Linked DNA regions of Homo sapiens: region 2 is linked to region 1. Evidence: promoter capture Hi-C in 16 types of primary human blood cells and fetal thymus (Javierre and others, 2016). All regions are on one chromosome and are shown on one strand. The core of a region is centred on a gene start or on the middle of the fragment in contact, and the rest is flanking DNA. Distances in the headings are between cores, read along the strand shown. Region 1 holds the start of MTERF1 (mitochondrial transcription termination factor 1). Region 2 holds the start of HEPACAM2 (HEPACAM family member 2).

Evidence for each region. The method cuts DNA at HindIII sites, captures the fragments that hold promoters and counts their contacts. A CHiCAGO score of 5 or more calls a contact.
Region 2: a contact is called between the fragment with the promoter of HEPACAM2 here and the fragment with the promoter of MTERF1 in region 1, in 4 of 17 cell types (total CD4 T cells, naive CD8 T cells, fetal thymus and 1 more). The highest score is 7.5, in total CD4 T cells.

The regions. Positions count from the first base shown.
Region 1 is chr7:91,879,276-91,882,089 of GRCh38, forward strand. MTERF1 (mitochondrial transcription termination factor 1) reads right to left here and starts at 1,427. Exons shown (of 3, transcript NM_006980.5): 1 at 1,382-1,427; 2 at 780-838. The coding sequence starts at 808. LOC112267986 (a long non-coding RNA gene) reads left to right here and starts at 1,527. Exons shown (of 2, transcript XR_002956514.2): 1 at 1,527-1,589. The HindIII fragment of the contact is 3,297 bases long and covers 1-2,183 here.
Region 2 is chr7:93,225,127-93,227,940 of GRCh38, forward strand. It overlaps HEPACAM2 (HEPACAM family member 2), which reads right to left and starts at 1,343. Exons shown (of 10, transcript NM_001039372.4): 1 at 1,242-1,343. The coding sequence starts at 1,320. The HindIII fragment of the contact is 7,149 bases long and covers 1-2,814 here.

The DNA.
Region 1 (2,814 bases), core at 177-2,676:
ATATACTATAAAGGTGCCAAAAATAAAGGCCGATCTACTGCAATCAAAAGATGTCAGATATTCTACATGACAAACTGCTTAACAGTATGGATAATGCCATGTATATTAAAGGCGGGGAGGGGGACGTTAATATATACAGAGGGGGAAAGTGGAATGACACTTATTTCTGAAAGATTATTAGAGGCTATGTACTACTTCTGAAATACTGGGACTTTATTTAATGAATATGTGTTACTTTGCAGTCAGATGAAAAAATTTAAACAAGTAAAACTGGCCTTTGGTGTGAAAAACAATGGAAAATACAAATTATCTTTATCTATTTTTCGGTTTCTAGTACCAAAAAAGTCACACTTCAAAATTCTCCATGATGCTTTACTCTTAGCAACGGATCTCCATTCAAAATACTCATAATATCTAGTAGGGTAAATGAACATCTAAATAGCCTAATACAAGAAAGTTAGCAACTTTCCTCACGTACAAATTTCAAAAATGGTACCTATTCAAAAATTGACTTCGATCTATTTCTCAAATTGACTTTTTAATTAACCAAAACCATTATCCAAAGGGCTAATGTTCAAACTTAACAAACACTGAAAATTTCTATGCTTGTAGTATGAGGGGTCTAAAAAAAGATTTACGTTCGCCTCTGCCCCACAACTGGCCTGTTAAAAAGGCTGTTAATGGAAATAACTAATCACTGGCCCTAAAATACCACATTCCAGCTGGTCTTCTTTTGATACAGCAAGCTAAGTTTGGAGATCTTTACATGCATTTCTCACCTTGTTTGTCCTAAGGAAAGGCTCTGCATCCCTCCAGAAAGGCTGGAGAACAGCTATCTCTGGAAATGACACACACACACAAAAAAAAGGCAAAATATTTCAGGCCTTCCTAATACAAAATAAGAGATCGATCCCAGCTAACGTTCTCGTTGCATTATGTTCTCGTGAGATGCATTACCTCTTGCAAACAACATTTCTCAGACATACAGAAAAGAAAACGGCAAGTACATGCCTACATATGATGGGAAAAGGTAGCGGAATCACGAATACGTTTTGTACCAAAGCTAAGTGCTTCATATATATTGTCTCGCTTTACTCCCCACAACAATTTAAAAGGTAGGCATAAGCCTTAAAATTACAAAATCTGAAACAGCGCCGAGCTCCCATACTAGCCTGCCTTCGCTAGCTGAAGCATTAGGGTTCGAACCCAGGTGGGTCTTTCTTAACTCAAAACCAAGGTAATTCCACACCGAAGGCTCTTTCCATCCCTCTTCCTCCTCCAAAGACAAATCTGCAAAGGGCTGCACTGTACAGCAGTCACCCACACCCACTTCTTAACAAAAAGAAAGGAAAGCACAGCCTCACCACCTTCCCAATCTCACCCTGAACTGCACCCATCCACTGTAGTTCGCTTTTACTTCCGCCTCTGGGGTCCGGAGCGGCTAGGAGGAGCGGAAGTGGAAAAGACTAACTTCCGGCCTCGGGTCGCGCGCAGAGGTGATGTCGTTGGTCCTGCGCCCCCTCGTGGCGGTACTTCAGCCCTTCGCAGCCCGACGCTAGGGGCCTGGCAGGGGGCAGCAAGAGACCGCGGTGAGCGCGGGGTATTGAACGCCAAAGAAGGGGTTTGGAGGGTGGGGTGGGGCCTGGGACTCCCAGTCGCCTGGGCAGATGTCCGTGGGGAACTGTAAGGCATCTTATAGGGATCCTACAGGGGGCATCCACTGCCGGCCGACGACACGTGGTGGAAAAGTAGCTATTATTTACATGCGTGTTGCAGTTTTTGATAATGCGATTGCTGCTGCTAATGTGACTAACGCGATGCCGATGAACATCTCGGCGTTTTTTGGTGCAGGATAAGCGGGTGTAGACTCTGTCTGTTTAGTCCCAGATTCTCCTCCTTTAATGAACTACCGTGGAAATCCTGGAGTGTCACTGCTGGTCTGAATTCAGCATCCGCCTTCAGGCTGGAAATCAATTCTAGTATACTTCGATTTCCTTACTTGCAGTTCGAATTCAAATATGATTCTTTTGACATTGTGAGGGTTTGCGCTATTTAAAGAATGGAGGCAACCGAAACCTCATCTCCACAGTGGATGCATTTTTGCTCCCTCCCGAGGCGTTGCCTTAAGCCACGCGGTCCTGTCAGCCTCACCTGCCTAGTGATGGTGACAATGGAAGAGATAAAGCTTCAATTCAAGGCACTTCTCCTGTGACCATCAAAAGAAAGATAATATCTACATTAATGAATTAATTGTGTCTGTCGAGTTATCCTCAGGAGACGATGGTGATTTGGTCCTTAAAAAAACACAGGATCAACAGGATTGACCCTGAATTCTACAAAGAGGAAAAATTTCAGGCATTACTAACTCCTCCATGTACAAGCCTAATGATGTAATTTTCTGGCCGGGCGCGATGGCTCATGCCTGTAATCCCAGCACTTTGGGAGGCCAAGGCGGGAGGATGGCTTGAGGCCAGGAGTTCGAGACCAGCCTGGCCAACATGGTGAAACCCCATCTCTACAAAAAGTACAAACATTAGCCAGGCGTGGTCACAGGTGCCTGTAGTCCCAGCTACTTGGGAGGCTAAGGTGGGAGAATCACCTGAGCCTGGGAGGTTGAGGCTGCAGTGAGCCGTGATTGTGCCACTACACTCTAGCCTGGGTGACACAGTGAACCTTGTCTCAAGAAAGAAAAAGAATTTTCTTTATCCCATTTCTTTCTCCTTTTTCTTTTTTTTTTTTTTTTTTCCTTTAGACGGAGTCTCACTCTGTTGCCAGGCTGGAGTGCAATGGCGCGATCTCGGCTCACTACAACCT
Region 2 (2,814 bases), core at 93-2,592, 1.3 Mb after region 1:
CCAGTTTCAAAAACAACACTTATAAAATGATAGTAGTCCTACTGTTTTAAATATAAAAATAAGTGGGATGATGACCCAGGATACTTTCAAAAGGAAGACAAATGCACAAAGGTAGTGACAGTTATAATAATTATTTACTTTTTCAAAAAATTTTAGAAAACAAAAATCTATTATAGGCTTAAATTTGATAACATAAATACTGTGATAACTGGAACAATCACAACTCTGGGAAACTCAAAGACTTAAAAAAATTTACAAACTGTACATTTCAAATGTGTGAGATAGGTACAACAGTAGGTATGAATTTGAATAATAACATTTACAATGCAAACTTTAACAAAATATAGGAGTGAAAGTAAAGCTCTAAATAGCTGAAGAAGCCTAAAAGTTAAATTGCTTATTTTGCTAAGCTGTTCTTAATTTTTAAAAAATGTAGCCTTAATTGAACTCCTATCTGTTGAATATAAACAAAACAAGAAATTGATTTGACTTTTAAAACTGATAAATAGGAAGAATGGAAATGAGAACATCTGGTGAAAATAATGTTGACAGACAGCAGTTGGAATGCTGGAAAGAGACTCCTTTAAACTCAAAAGATAAAGAGGAGAATGAGGGAAAATATTAAGGTAGAAAAAAATTCTTAATAGGACTAGCCATTGGGCAAAGAGAAAAGCTAAAGGCATTTTGGAGTAACAATCTTTTCAAATACGTTCTCCCTTTTGTGTAGGAAATTTTTTTGTTAGTTTGGAATCTTACCTTTCTTCCATATTTCATAAGATGAGACAGATAACTTAAAACGAAGCAGTAAACAGTTTGCAACAATATCTTTAATTAAAAAGAAAACAATTTTCGTAAATTATTTGTAGTTTCACTCTAAGTGGTCACAATTTCATGGCCTATTAGAATATTTGCTGAAATAAATGCATTAAAGACTATTGAACCTATATGTAAACTCTAAAAGAAGAAATTCATTATCTTTTAAAAATATCTGAATTATCTTAATGAGTGCTATGACAATAATTGTTGTTCCAAGAAAACAATAACAATCTATTTATTGAAACTCATTTCTCTTAAATGTTCCTGCTTCTTTGCTGTAACAGTGTGTTATTGTTAAAAGGTTCTGACCTGCTCTTCAATTATCTGAATGCATCTACAGCCTAAAGCAAATATTTACCTTATGTCCACAATTAAAAAAAAAAAACCTAACAAACAGCTAAAACACAATTCACACAGGGCCTTACCGAAGAGAAGGAGGTATATTTTGCACTGAAAGACCCCAAGTGTGTCACCGAAGGGCTCCATGAAAGCATCCTGTCCCATGCATGCAGTGCCCTGTTCTCAGTGGTAACTTGGACCAGCAGCTGCTGGTTTATTTGCTAGGGAAATTAGCAGTGAGGTAACAGACCCTATCTTGCCTCTTGCTTCTGTGATTTGAATACAGAATGAATGTGTATACAAAGGACACAGGGAGTGGGAACACCTGTTATGTGCTTAGCAAGAATACAGGCTTATGGCTTTCAGAAGAGTTTCTTAGCAACTACCAGTAATTGTCTATATATTTCATAAATTATACTTAGTTATTAAAAAATCACATGAAGGAAAACATCCTTTTGCGTGACTTTACTGAAAAATGGCATGTTTTCATAATGAAAGAATATTGTGAGATTTCCTTAAAAACAAAAGCTGGTTTTCTATCATGCAGAACTATGCCATTATTATTTTAAAATTAAAAAAAATTATATGAAAATTGAAGTAGCTCATGTATCTGCTAAACAGTTATAAATCTTCATGAAGTCACTAACATGTAAAAATTCTACCAATGAATCAAAAGAGAGATCCAGAATATATTTAAAACGTATTTTTTCTATGCAGTGTTTCCTATTACAATGACTGATTTCATTTAATCTTTGAATTCATCTTATTTTTAAAAGCAAATCACAGGTGTGTTTCCAACTGGGACTGAGGCATGGACCATGCATAATTATAATGAAAAGTGCATGCCAGGAGATAGTATCTGAGGCCACATTTTCACAGCTGATGCATAGAGGAAGTGAACCAATGATCTAGAAAAGATCTTACCTCTACTGCAGTGTCCAGGTTACAGGTTTTCAACCTGGTCTCTCCATTGTCATGGCAGCAGATAGTCTAAGCATGTCCGCTTAATTTACTAAGTTATTAGTTAACCCCTATTTGCAAGAAGGCTCTGGTTCTAGCCTTGTTATATAAAATGTTAAGGATATATCCAAATCTGCATCAAATCATCAAATCAAGGAAAATTCCTTGCATGCATCAGTTTTAACAGTAAAGGCCCACTGAAGAAGTTCAATGATAAGAGGGGAAGGAAGACTATACCTCAAGCATAATTAAAGTAAAAAAGGAATGATAGTAACTTTGGAATCCAAGTTTGGAAACACTCTTTGCATTAGGGCTCTGAACTCTTCTAGAAGGACTTCTATAAGCAAAGAAAGTAAGTGACTATTGGGAAAACGAAGTCCTCTTCAGAGATCAGTCACTTTCAGATCCCTCCATGCTTCAGAAAAATGGCAAGAGCTCCTCATGCTTCCCCCACCTCCCTGCAAAATAATAACAATGCCACAACTTTCTCTGCACTGTCTCTAAATCTGGTACACACATCTATTGCAGCACTTATCTCCTTAATCTTTATTTTATTGGATGTTTATTTTCCCTCTGAGCTCTCGAATACAGAGAATAATCTTATTCATTCATGGATGTTGGGCACGTAGCATAATGCTTAACTGGTATTTTTGTTAAGTTGTTTCTCCAGAAAACAAAACTCTAAGTGCTCCTTGGCCC